2 separate regions of the Homo sapiens genome follow, and region 1 is linked to region 2. The links are contacts of gene promoters, found by promoter capture Hi-C in blood cells and fetal thymus (Javierre and others, 2016). All regions are on one chromosome and are shown on one strand. The core of a region is centred on a gene start or on the middle of the fragment in contact, and the rest is flanking DNA. Distances in the headings are between cores, read along the strand shown. Region 1 holds the start of ZNF350 (zinc finger protein 350). Region 2 holds the start of ZNF543 (zinc finger protein 543).

Region 1 (6,937 bases), core at 1,820-4,319, 5.3 Mb after region 2:
GTGATTCTCCTGCCTCAGCCTCCCAAGTAGCTAGGATTACAGGCACGCACCGGCATGCTCAGCTAATTTTTGTATTTTTAGTAGAGACGGGGTTTCACCATGTTGGCCAAGATGGTCTTGATCTCCTGACCTCGTGATCTGGCCACCTCAGCCTCCCAAAGTGCTGGGATTGCAGGCGTGAGACACCACGCCCAGCCAGTTTTGCTTTTTAATATTTAGCAATATCCATTTAAATTCATCTTTGTATATAGGGTAAGGGTTAATTTAAAGTTCAGCCTATGGTTGCCCAGTTGATTCAACAGTATTGAAAACACTGTCCTCTTTCCATTAAATTGATTTTGAACATTTGTAAAAATCAGTTGCCTGTTCTTGTGTCCATTTCTTGACTCTATTCTGTTGATGTGCGTGTCTATCACTCCACTAATAATCTACGGTCACTCCCATCAGAAATGACATAATATGCTCTATGAGGTAAAACAGCTATGTTACCTCATATAAAATGTTCAAAGCCAGAACCTGGACTTTGGGAAATGTCCCATATCCCTCTCCGGAAGCCCGCCTCCCAGTCTCTCGGTGTTCTTAGAGATGGCGAAGGATGGGGTTGCAGCACCAGAATTCCAGAATCGGAAGTAGGTTCTGATACGTGTTCAGCCTTTGGCAGCTGCTACTGTAGCCTTGAAAGCCTGATGCTGCGTGTGAATCCGGATGGGGAGCTTGTGGGGACGACCATGAAGTGGAAACGCATGTGAATGTCCGTGTTCAGGGGTTTTATTTCAGTTTAGTCACCGAGGAATATGGGTGTGAGAAAGAGACCCTTGGGATGTCAAAGGTTAAGGCTTAGTTTTAAGAGTTTAATGACTGAGGGTCCCACGGACAGAGCTTGAGGTCTATATGTTCACTTTTCATGAGTCTCAGTAATAGAAAACTGGGGAAAGTGTGTCTCAGTGAATGCTGTTTTTTGCTCAGATTTGCAATTTAATATGGGGCTCAGATACAGAGAAGCCCGAGCTAGGAAGAGGAGTGGCGTGAATGAAAGGTCTAGGGGGAGGAGTGTCAAAGGAGTGCCTCTGTGGTAAGTTTTAAATTGAATTTGAAGGCAATTTTATTTAGAGGAAGACGGGGCTTGTCTGTGTTTGAGAATGTAATGAGGCTGGAGGCTTTCAGGTGTGCAGTTGAAGGTTAGTGGTTGCTTTGAGACTAACTGGATGCTGGAAACACTTCCTGTCAGTCTTTCAAGTCCAAATCTGTCCTGAAGGTTTCTATTTAAAAACTTTTTCTTCCTAGGTCCACTATTCTCATTGTACCCATAAAAATCAGAGTAATTCAGGGTGACGAAGTGGTGTCTTTACCGAGGAGTCTTGCTCTGTCGCCCAGGCTGGGGTGCAGTGGCGCGATCTCGGCTTACTGCAACCTCCGCCTCCCGGATTCAAGCGATTCTCCTGCCTCAGGCTCCCGAGTAGCTGGGATTACAGGCGCGCGCCACCGCGTCCGGGTAATTTTTGTATTTTTAGTAGAGACTGGTTTCGCTTTGTTGGCCAGGCTGGTCTGGAACTCCTGACCTCAGATGATCCGCCTGCCTCGGCCTCCCAAAGTGCTGGGATTACAGGTGTGAGCCACCGTGCCCCACTTCACTTTCTTAAATGTTGTGTTTAGAAGCACAAACTTAAAAAAAAATCAAGTCCACTTTATTAATTTTATTTTGTTTTGTGGGTCATCCTTTACTCTCCTCTCAGAATTAACTCACGTCCATGAGGATTATCTCCCTTTTCCTTCTCTAAGTTTTATACTTTCTCTTAAACTTAGATCTATGATCTATTTTGAGTTAACTTTTGTGTATGGTTTGAGGGTCCTAACTCATTTTTCTGGATGTGGATATCCAATTATCCCAGTGCCGCTTGTTGAAAAGACTATTCTTATTGAATTGTCTTGGCACTTTTGTCAAAAACTCTTAACAATATTTTTATACTCTCAATTCTGGCTCTGCTCTTCCCATTGGCACCTTTACTAAAAGTGGCCTTTCTAGGAGGCCCAATTCCTTTAGTCTGTCGTGGCCAGGCTCACATCGTAATTCATTCTCAAAATCTCTTTTCTCTCCTCTCCTCTCCTCTTTTCTCTTCTTTTCTCCTCTTTTCTCTTCCTTCTCCTCCTCCTCTTCCTCCTTCTTCTTCTTCTTTTTTGTAAATAATAATCATTTTTTCGAGGCCAGGCGCGGTGGCTCACACCTGTAATCCCAGCACTTTGGGAGGCCGAGACAGGCAGATCACGAGGTCAGGAGGTCGAGATCATCTTGGCCAACATGGTGAAAGCCAGTCTCTACTAAAAATACAAAAATTAGCTGGGCGTGGTGGCGCGTGCCTGTAGTCCCAGCTACTTGGGAGGCTAAGGCAGGAGAATCGCTTGAACCAGGGAGGCAGAGGTTGCAGTGAGCCCAGATCTCGCCACTGCACTCCAGCCTGGCGACAGAGCAAGACTCCGTCTCAAAAAAAATTATAATTTTTTTCTTTCTTCACCACCCGCCCCCCCGAATACCTGCTATTTTTCTGTTCTTAAAAACCGCTTCCTGCAAGCTAATTTTCGCCAGACGCTTTCCCGTGGGTGTCTGCCTACCTGATGTGTTGCCTTTTCCCTTTCTACCTGATCTGTTACCTTTTCCATTTCCAATTCATTCTCTGGGATACCTACACCTGGCTGCACTGTTACTTGTCTTTTTCAAAACCTTTTTTTTTAAATTTAACAAAGTGGATGGAAAAGCGCTAAAGGCAATTTAGCTTGCCCCATATTTGCCTGATAAAGCCTGAGTCTCTGAAAATCTGCCCCCTTTCGCAAGACTTTAAGTGCCAGGAAACGAGGCGATTTCAGTGACTTCTCTTCTTCCCTGGCTCCTGGCTCAAAAACCTGCCACTGCCTTCTGTGCGTCCAATTTTCAAACATGGCTGCCGTCAGGAGCCACGGCTATGGGCGCGGCCATTTTACAGAGTAGGAAATGCCGTAAATGCGCTTGTCCTTGCTCTTTTAAACATTTTAGGTTCTCCTCGGCCGCCGTAGGTGGACCATAAACCCGTGCGAGGACTCCAGAAGTAGGAGCAGTTTACGGAAGTGTAACGTTGAGGCCCTTCTTGTGTATCTGGAGAAAATAGAGGTCAGTGTGTGGTTTTGTCCCTGAAAGTTTTTTGTCCTAGTTCAGGTTTTGTCTCAGTGGAAGGTTTGGGAGATCTGAGGACGTGGTGTACCCTGGACCACATAGTTTTTGGCAGGAAGACTGGGGAGCGCCGGGGTATAGGCATTTGGGAGGTACCTGGTGGGAGTCTGTGATCCCCCTGTCTGTGGTCCGCGTGCCTTTGGTGTGAGTACAGTGACTAAGGGTCTGTAGTGATCAACGGCCGTGTCCTAACTGTCAAGGTATGGATCACTCTGCTTGTAAAGGATGGAGGTGGCGATTAGGATCGATGCGGCGTCTGCTTCGGGTTCAGGATTTAATTTGGAACTCAGTGATGTTGGAGTCTGGGAGGATGTCCATCGCTGTAGAGTGTCTGGTCCGTGGTTCGGATGAGTAAGAGGCATGGGGCCAGTGTCTGTGGTACAAAGGCTTGTGAGGGCTGAAGCTTTCGAGACTTTGGAGCCCTGGGTCCTGGGTTGAGGTTCGAACCTCGGTTACTGGGGCAAAAGGCGACACAGCCCCCAGCATTAGTTCGAAACCATATATCTACTCTTCTGATCCTTGGGGTGGCTATTTACAGATCGGGGGGTCAAGTTCAGTCATACCCTCCGATTATATATTGTCTATGGCTGCAAAGGCAGCGGTTGAGTTGTTGTGACAGAGACCTCGTGGCCGGCAAAATCGAAAATGTTGCCAACCTCTGCATTCACTTCTTTTATTTTTTATTTATTTTTTTTATTTTTTGAGACGGAGTTTCACTTTTGTCTCCCAGACTGGAGTGCAATGGCGCGATCTCGGCTCACTGCAATCTCCGCCTCCCGGGTTCAAGCGATTCTCCTGCCTCAGCCTCCTGAGTAGCTGGGACTACAGGCCCACGCCACCACGCCCGGCTAGTTTTTGTATTTTTAGTAGAGACAGGGTTTTACCACGTTGGGCAGGTTGGTCTCGAACTCCTGACCTCAGGTGATCCGCCCACCTTGGCTTTCCAAAGTGCTGGGATTACAGGCGTGAGCCACCGCGCCCGGCCTTCACTTCTTAATATATAGTGAGTGTTGCTTGCCCGCCTTATATTCACACTTTCTTAACAGAATCTCCATTTCGTGAAGTATTCATCCCTGTGGCAAGGCGACCCAAATCCCAGTTTCTTAGTAAGGCCTTGTTGGTCTTAGCCAATCTTGCTGGTTCCAATTGCCATTGCTAGTGATAGGTTTGACATGGAAATGAGCTTAGGCGTATGGTGCAATTCTAGCCAACTATGTATGTGAAAATCTGCCTGGGAGTTTCTGAGGGAGCATTTTCTTTTTTAAATATGTAATTTCTTGAATCTCTTTTTCCATGTTCGTGATGATATCGCCTGAAAATAACATTAATTTTCTGTCTTACTTTGTAATGCTTATAATTCATTCTTATCTTAATGCATTGGCTCAACTTTCCAGTATAAAGTAGGAAAATAGGGTGTTAGTGGACGTTCTTGTTTTATTACCCACCTGTAAAATTCACCCGTTGTGTTGTCTGGAGTTAACACCTTTCCTGGAGGTAAACTGTTTGGTATGGTTGATCTCTTCCTTTACTTTGTTAATTTTTCTACATTTATATATTTTAAATGTACAATTTAATTATCATGGAGGCAATATATGTATAAGCAGTCATTGCCCAGGTCAAGAAATAGAATATGGTCAGCACACCAGTGGTGTTCTGTGAGTCTTTTTCCATTCTCACACCGAAAAGTATTTTAGGCTTTTCTTTATATAATTAATCATTATTTATCATTGTAGTTAATACAGTTTTGCCTATTTTAAACTCTGTATATCAGTGGAATTGTACATCACTCTTTTTTTGTGTCAGCCTTCTTTTGCTCATTATTGGTGAGGGTCTTTCCTGTTGCATCTGAGTATATTTTCTTTGCTCAATGACAAGGATCAGGCGAATTTACAGTAAATATTTTAGGGCTTGCAGGCTACATATGGTCTCTTGCATATGCTAATTTGCTTTTTGTTTTACAGTCTTTCAAAAATGTAAAAAGCATTCTTGCAGGCTGGACCAAAGGTATAATAGGTTTTCTATCACATTCCATTATGTAAAATATAGCAGTTTTTTCTATTATTAATTACATTTGTATTACCTAAAGCTTGTATTATTAAGAATAATGCATGTGTGAAAATTTGTGTAAATGTCTTTTGGTTCATATGTGCTCTCATATGGGGGAGGCAGAGATGTATATCTAGATGTGCACCTCGGAGGAAAATTGCTGCTTCATAGAGTGTGTATAAACTCCGTCTAAATAGATGTCAAACTGTTTTCTAAAGTGGTTGTACCACTTACAGTTCCCCTAGCAGGATATAGTTTGCTTTATAGGGTGCTTTATGTGGCCTCTTTAAAATATCTGGCCATACCCTAATAACATTGAGAGATTCTCCTATATTAATGTTCTTTAAAGCTTTATTGATATGTTTCTACCATTGAAATTGACAGTTGATTCTAAAATGGTTTTTGTGTATGTTGTGAGGGGGGTTTTAACTTTCTGTCCCCATCCCCAGTACCATTTATTGATTTTTTTTTTTTTTTTTAATTTTTTTAGATAGAGTCTTGCTCTCGTCGCCCAGGCTGGAGTGTAGTGGCGTGCTTGGCTCAACTGCAACCTCTGCCTTCTGGGCTCAAGTGATTCTTGTGCCACGGCCTCCCGAGTAGCTGGAATTACCAGCAGGTGCCACCTTGCCTGGCTAATTTTTGTATTTTTAGTAGAGATGGGGTTTCACCATGATGGCCAGGCTGGTCTCCAACTCTGGCTCAAGTGGTCCACCTGCCTGAAGGGGGCCTGCCCCTCCACACCTGTGGGTATTTTTTGCAAGGTGGAAATGAGAGACTGAGAAAAGAAATCAGACACAGAGAGAAAGTACAGAGGAAGAAAAGTGGGCCCAGGGGACTGGTGTTCAGCATATGGGGGACCCACACCGGCACTGGTCTCTGAGTTTTGTTAGTATTTATTGATTACTATTTTTACCATCTTGGTGAGGGGGGTGTGGCAGGACTATAGGGTAATGGTGGGGAGAGGGTCAGTAGGAAAACATGTGAGTAAAGGACTCTGTGTTATAAATAAGTTTAAGGAAAGGTCCTGTGCCTTGATGTGTACGTAGGCCAGATTTATGTTTGACTTTACACAGACATCTTAGTGTAGTAAAGAGTAGTATTGCCGCCAGTATGTCTCACCTTTAGTTATAAGGTGGTTTTCTCCTATCTTAGTAAATAGAATGTATGATTGGGTTTTATACCGGGACATTCCATTCCCAGGGAGGAGCAGGAGACAGATGGCTTTCTCTTATTTTAACTGTAAAGAGGTCTTCCTCTTTCACTAATCCTCCTCAGCACAGACCCTTTACGAGTGTTGGGCTGGGAGATGGTCAGGTTTTTCCCTTCCCACGAGACCATATCTCAGGCTGTATCAGTGGGAGGAAACCTTGGACAATACCCAGGCTTTCTTGGGCAGAGGTCCCTGCGGCCTTCCGCAGTGCATTGTGTCCCTGGGTACTTGAGACTGGAGAATGGTGATGACTTTTACCAAGCATACTGCCTGCAAACACATTTTAACAAAGCACGTCCTGCACAGCCCTAAATCCATTAAACCTTGAGCCAACACAGCACACGTTTCTGAGCACAGGGTTGGGGCTAGGGTTACAGATTAACAGTATCTCAAGACAGAGGAACTTTTCTTTGTACAGATTAAAATGGAGTTTCTTATGTCTTCCTCTTTCTATATAGACACAGTAACAGTCTGATCTCTCT
Region 2 (7,094 bases), core at 4,359-6,858:
CAAATTTTCTGAAGGGATTTTATAATTAGTCCCCATGGCAGTAGAAAAGTCCTGGTCTCCATCATCTTGCAAATGGCAACCCTGATCAACTGTACTCTGAGGTAGGCAGGTGACCTATACCAGCCACTCCAAAGAGAGAAAAAACCTTCTCTTTCAGGAAGGGCTAAATGAGGGAGGCTGCCACTCCTGCTGCCATGCAGCATCCTGGGAATTCTGTGAGGGAACCTGCCTAAAAACCTTACCAAGAAGAGGGAGCAAAGAGGCTGGGCACAGTGGCTCACGCTTGTAATCCCAACGCTTTGGGAGTCTGAGACCAGCTAGGGCAAATGGTGAAACCCCATCTCTACTAAAAATACAAAAAGTAGCCGGGTGTGGTGTCATGCACCCGTGGTCCCAGCTACTTAGGAGACTGAGGTGGGAGGATCACTTGAGACTGGAAGGTGAGGCTGCAGTGAGCTGAGATCGTACCACTGCACTCCAGTGTGGGTTACAGAGTGAGACCCTGTCTCCAAAAAAGAAAAAAGAAAGTGGGAGCAAAGAAAGACAACTGGCTTGACACCCACCAACCCAGGAGCCAGCCTTACCACTAAGCTTATTAGGTGAGATAATATATTTCCTTCAGGGTTAAGACTGTATGAGCTGATCTGCACATATAGCCCAAAACTTTTCAAAATATAAGGGGGTAAAAGACATAAGTACTCTATGGAGAAGTTAATGGCACAGGCAGTAGGACCCACAAAAACACAGGGTGGGATTCATCAGTCATCTCTAAGCAAATGTTCACTCATTTTTGCTATGTGCTTGGCACTGGGTTCAATGACAGTGCAGTGAAAAAGGGGAATCAGACCTTCCTTCAGCTTTGTCAGGATCATGCTCTTCACCACCTCAGGGCCTTTGCACATGCCAGCCTGCCTACTTGGAATACTACTTGCTCCTCTATCTTGCTCCTTCTAATCAACTCACTCTTTGGGTCTCAGCTCAAATGTCACTTCTTGGAGAGACTTTGCTGCTGTGGCTCTCAAATCCAAGTCCTTAATCAATATGCCACCTGGCCATAGAACTTTACTCCTAATAGTATGTCAATAACTGATATTTATACAATGTAACTATAACCTAGGGAATATGCCAAGCAATTTAAATGCATTGTATTTTATAAACACTCAATTAAATTTAGTCATTAGTTTAGAAAAGAAATAACATATTTGAGATACTGAGTCTCCATTCAGGAGAAAGGTAAGTTTCTTCACTGACCTAAGGCTTTTTTTTTACATTCTAAGCAAAGCATTACATTGCTACTCCTATGGTCCCTGCATGAAAAATTCTATTTTAGGATTTCTTCACAGGATGCACATTAAGAATGTACTGCAATCAGGACCACATTATAGATGAAGAGATCGAGGCTCAGGCAGATAAAGTGACTTGCCAAAATCTGGGAAATGGCGAATGGCCAAGCCAAAATGTACACCTGAGTCTAGTCATCAAAAGCATCTGGCCAATTTAACTAAAAAACTATACAAAGTTGTTCCAAAAACTGCGGAGTCCAAGTGTGATACTGCTGATTATGAGGACAATGATTTAGACAGCAGTGACAATAGTGACAGCAACAGAGGTCACAATTGCTAACCTGCGCCCAGCCACCTATCACAACACACTCTACTGAACCATTTGCCCTCACACTAGCCCTATGAAACAAATACTATATTGGCCTTTTTTTTTTTTTTTTTTCAGACGGAGTCTCTCTCACACTGTCGCCTGGGCTGGAGTGTAGTGATGAGATCTCAGCTCACTGCAACTTCCGCCTCCCGGGTTCAAGTGATTCTCCTGCCTCAGCCTCCTGAGTAGCTGGGATTACAGGCACCCGCCATCACACCCGGCTAATTTTTTGTATTTTTAGTAGAGACGGGATTTCACCATGTTGCCCAGGCTTGTCTCAAACTCCTGACCTCCTGATTTGTCCGCGTCGGCCTCCCAAAGTGCTGGGATTACAGACATGAGCCACTGTGCCTGGCCTGGCCCTTTTTATTCATGAGAAAAACTGAGGCACAGAGGGATTCCTTAACTTGCCCAGGAACACAGGGATCATGAGCAGTGGAGATGGGAGTGGACTCCTGGACACCAGACCCTGGTCTCCCAAGTGCTACGCTCAGAGCCAATGGTGAACACCCCTGCGTGGTGCCAGGAGCCTCAGAACAAGTGGGCTGTGGAGGAGAGAGGGGAACATGAGTAGGAGAACTCAATCCTAAGGGAGCACAGGACCAGAAGGGGCCTTACCCAGAGACATGAGAAGTCCGCAGGTCTCCAGCATCACCTCCTGATACAAGGTTCTCTGGGCTGCATCCAACTGTCCCCACTCCTCCTGGGTGAATGTCACAGCCACATCCTCAAAGGTCACAGACACCTGGAAAATTAAACAGAGATAGTAGTGTTTCCCTTGGAACTGTGGAATACAACTAGAACTTGTCACTTCAGCACTGCAAAAGATGCGCAGTGACCCAAGAATCAAATCACCAAGCATCTCTAGAGGGCCATGATCTGTGCCAGGCATGAGGGGAATGTGGACATTGCCTTGGATAAATTACAGCAGTGTCGGTCAGGCGCGGTGGCTCACGCCTGTAATCCCAGCACTTTGGGGGGCCATGAAGGGCAGATCACGAGGTCAGGAGATCGAGACCATCCTGGCTAACATGGTGAAACCCCGTCTCTGCTAAAAATACAAAAAAATTAGCCGGGCGCGGTGGCGGGCGCCTGTATTCCCAGCTACTCGGGAGGCTGAGGCAGGAGAATGGCGTGAACCCGGGAGGCGGAGCTTGCAGTGAGCCGAGATCGTGCCACTGTACTCCAGCCTGGGTGACAGAGCGAGACTCGTCTCAAAAAAAAAAAAAAAAATTACAGCAGTGAAGAGAGAGAAGCCTCCTATGCAGAAAGCCACTTCACACAGAAATAAGGTTAGGACAATCCTAAGGGGACTGAGAGGCAAGACAGTAAGTGCTCTGAGACATCAGAGGAATGGGAAAGAATAATAACAAAAACAACACCAGCAACAACAACAAGAACAGCACCTGAGTCTTACCGATCCTCCCTGTGAGCCTGCCTCATGCTAATGGCTTTACATGCCATGGTAAAGTGACTAAAAGTCCCCAGCTCAGGAGTCAGACTCCTGAGGTTTAAAACCAAATTCCTGAAATCAACACAAGCCTGCTATGTGACCTTGGAAATCTCATTTCATTTATCTGAGCCCTGATGTCCAGGTCAACACAACAGGGTTTTCCACTTCACCAAGAATAGTCAAAAGATCTGAAGAAAAGCTGTAAAGGAAACACTGGGGCAAAGGGCCACAGCTCCTGAGTTCACCATCATCATCTCCATGTCACACTCAGAGACTTGAGGTCCAGGACCTCCACTAGTCTACCCAAAGTCACATCTCTTATCAGGAGAGACAGAATTTGAACCCAGGGCCCTATGGTCTATGTTCTAATCATGCAACCCGACACTCCTTCATTAGCAAAGTTAATGCACAGTTAATGAGGATGGGAAACATTGAAATACATCCATTTGAGCCACCCTGAAAATATTTTCAGGATTTTTTTTTTTTTTTTTGAGACAGGGTCTCAATATTTTGCCCAGGTTGGGCTTGAACTCATGATCCTCCTGCCTTAGCCTCCCAAGCTGGATATACAGACACATGCCACTGTGCTGGGGTTAGCCACTTGAAATATTTTCATGGACCTGGGCAGAGCAGCATAGTCATAATCACCTACCTCACAGAAGAGTCACCTGAGGTGGTGGCACCTGCCTCAAAAGTGGCAGGGCCTGGACCTGCATCTGCTGCCTCGGACACTTCTGGGCCTCACAGATGCCCATTCTCATAGGAAGAATCCACAACGAGCTATCACTACCTTTTCCTGTTTGAGTCCTACCAACAAGTATCCCTGAGGTCAGGATACTTCAGGAGCAAGGAACAAGAGTCACAGAGGACACAGCAGGTTGTAGCCATGAGAACATGGGCCCCTGACTGGCTATGTCTGTCCTGGCTAAGGAGGAAGGCACATCTAGCAAAAGACCACAAAATCTTGTGTCCCAAGACATGTGTCAGCTGGTATAGGAGAAAACCACTCAGGAAACCACTGTGGAAGCCACACGGGTCCCCTGCGGACTCCTTAAACAACCAATAAACCATTTTTTTTTAGTCCACACAGTTCCACCAGCATGAAATGCCATGACTCCTCATGTCCAAGACCACCTGCTAGAAGGAAGCCTGCTCAACTTGCAAAGTTTACTTTAGGTGTCACCCCCAGGCCTCCCTAACCATTGCGGGCAAAGAAGAGGGTAAAAACACAGGCTGTGATGGTAGACACACCAGTTGTTAGTTTCTGATACTTAAGAGCTACAGTGATGTAAGGCAGGTAATTGAACCTATGTGAGCCTCCAGCTGCTCTTGTGTAAAACAGTGAGGACAAGAGAACCTAATTCTAAGGAGTTCAGGATTAAAGGAGCTGAGGGTTAAATAATGCCTGCCAATCAGCCCACAGCAAGGACTCTTTATGATCAGCTGTCACTCTTTGCAATTATTTCGTTTCTCTTTGTTCACATAACATCCTAGACCAACTCAAACGGCAAGCTTCTTTAATATCGTCAGATTCTCTATACAAAAATGCCACACATTGCCAAAAATGGGCAAGTGCGTAAGGCGCCACTTTAGCCGGAATTGCCAAGAAAGCCACCTCCAAATAGGTGACATCTGGACAGAGGCCAGAAAGATATGAGAGGGAGGCCCTGCGAAGTTATAGGGGCAGTGTTCAAGGCAAAGGGAAGTGCAAAGAGAAAGCCTGGAAAAAGGAAGAAGACTGCACGGTCAGGTTGGTGGCTCTGAAGAGCAAAGGACAAGGGAAAAATGGAGAGACAAGGTCAGGGGTGGTTGGCCAGGTGGATGGGGTAGGGGCTGGCAGGCAACAGAGGAGGTTGGATTTAAGGGAAGTGTGATGAGATCCATGAAGGAAGCATCATTCATCCTTCTACCAAGGACTGAGCACCTGTCGGAGGCCAACACTATTGCAGGACTGCGGATAAAGGAAATGACAAGCTACGGCCACTTCTCTTAAATAAACGACGGCGACAAAGAAACATCCTGTGGCTGTCTTGGCTTCTGCCTGCCCACGAGGCCTCCAGAAGTAGCAGAGCAGCAGCAAGGCCAAAACCTCGTCCACTCACCTGCGCCGAGGCTGCCATCCTGAGACCCTGCAGCCCTAGCGGGGCCCGGGAATGCCGCGGCTCAGCCGACCCCCAGCCCTTCTCTGTCCTGGGCGGGGCGACCTCGGCTGACTTTCGCACTCGGAGCCTCAGTTTCCCCAGAGAAAAATGCGCACAAAGCGGGCGCAGCGTCGGGGCTGAGGAGACGGAGGGCGGCTGCGGAGGCCTAGGCCTCGGCAGGCGCCGGTGGAACACCCCGTTAGGGAAGAAGCGGGGCGTCAGGCTCCCGCCAAGATGCGGAGAAGGCGCGTAACAGCCTCATTACCCTCCCCTGCTCAGGCCGCTGGACGCGCCTACCCAGCGGTCCAGGCCCCACACTGTTCCAGGGCCAATCCTGCTCACGGAGATGACGTCACGCGACGAAGCGGAAGTCCCACCTCCGCCGCCCTGGCCCGCAGAAATCGCCCGTGTCCTGGCCCGTCATTGGCCTAGAGTCCGCGGCCGACGCAAGGGGTGGTGCCTTCTGAGTAAGGCAGTTTTTCCCTCACATCTACCGGGTGTGGGAACTCACCAAGCGCAGCCGACTCCATTTAAGTGCGCACAAGGACCCCCGCGTCGTCTTAGGGCCGCCGCTTTACTATGGGCACAAGTCGGAGGGTCGAAAGGTCCTTTCTAGCTTAGGAAAATTGAGGTCAGGAGGCGGGGATATTCGCCCCGATTGAGATCATGGGCTGGGCCCAGAGCTTCTGGCTCACTTCCCTTATTTTAGGGAGGTAGCTCATATATGTAATCTCAGTGCTTTGGGATGCCAACACAAAATAATTGCTGAGGTCAGGAGTTTGAGACCACCCTGGGCAATATAGTAAGATGTTATATCTACCAAAAAAAAAAAAAAGAGCAAGGCATGATGGTGTACACCTGTAGTCCTAGACACTGGGAGGCTGAAGCAAGAGGATTGCTTGAGCCCAGGAATTTGAGGTTATAATGAGATATGATGAGAGAAAACACACACACATAAACACACTGAGATGCCATCTTATACTGGTCAGAGTGGCTATTATTAAAAAGTAAAAAACCAACAGATGTTGGTATGGATGCAAGGAAAAGGGAACGCTTATATGCTATTGGTGGGAATGTAAATTAGTACAACCTCTATGGAAAACAGTATGGAGATTTATCAAAGAACTGAAAATAGAACTGCCATTTGATCTGGCAATTCCACTATTGGGTATTTACTTAAAGGAAAATAAACCACTATATCAAAAAGATGCCTGTACTTACATGCTTACTGTAGCACTATTCACAGTAGCAAAGTCATAGAATCAACCTAAGTGTCCATCGACAGATGATTGGATAAAGAAAATGCGATATATATATGTATATATATGTATGTATATGTATATATGTATATATATGTATGTATATGTATATATGTATGTATATGTATATATATGTATATATGTATGTATATGTATATATATGTATATATGTATGTATATGTATATATATGTGTATATATGTATGTATATGTATATATATGTATATATATGTATGTATATGTATATATATGTATGTATATGTATATATATGTATATATATGTATGTATATGTATATATATGTATATATATGTATGTATATGTATATATGTATATATGTATGTATATGTATATATATGTATATATATGTATGTATATGTATATATGTGTATATATATATACACTCCATGGAATACTACTCAGTCATTAAAAAAAATCATGGCTTTTGCAGCAATATGGCTGGAACTGGGGGGCCATTCTCTTAAGTGAAATAATTCAGAAACAAAGTCAAATACTGCATGTTATCACTTATAAGTGGTAGCTAAATGATGTATACATATGGAAATAGTGGAATAATAGACACTGGAGAT

Evidence for each region. The method cuts DNA at HindIII sites, captures the fragments that hold promoters and counts their contacts. A CHiCAGO score of 5 or more calls a contact.
Region 1: a contact is called between the fragment with the promoter of ZNF350 here and the fragment with the promoter of ZNF543 in region 2, in 3 of 17 cell types (total CD4 T cells, non-activated CD4 T cells and naive CD4 T cells). The highest score is 12.3, in total CD4 T cells.

Annotation. Positions count from the first base shown.
Region 1 is chr19:51,982,972-51,989,908 of GRCh38, reverse strand. ZNF350 (zinc finger protein 350) reads left to right here and starts at 3,069. Exons shown (of 5, transcript NM_021632.4): 1 at 3,069-3,139. RefSeq lists enhancers at 2,903-3,142, 2,729-3,604. The HindIII fragment of the contact is 6,623 bases long and covers 1-3,604 here.
Region 2 is chr19:57,318,986-57,326,079 of GRCh38, reverse strand. It overlaps ZNF543 (zinc finger protein 543), which reads right to left and starts at 5,608. Exons shown (of 4, transcript NM_213598.4): 1 at 5,209-5,608; 2 at 2,272-2,398. The coding sequence starts at 5,226. RefSeq lists enhancers at 5,510-5,659, 5,670-5,789, 6,715-7,094. The HindIII fragment of the contact is 3,609 bases long and covers 4,621-7,094 here.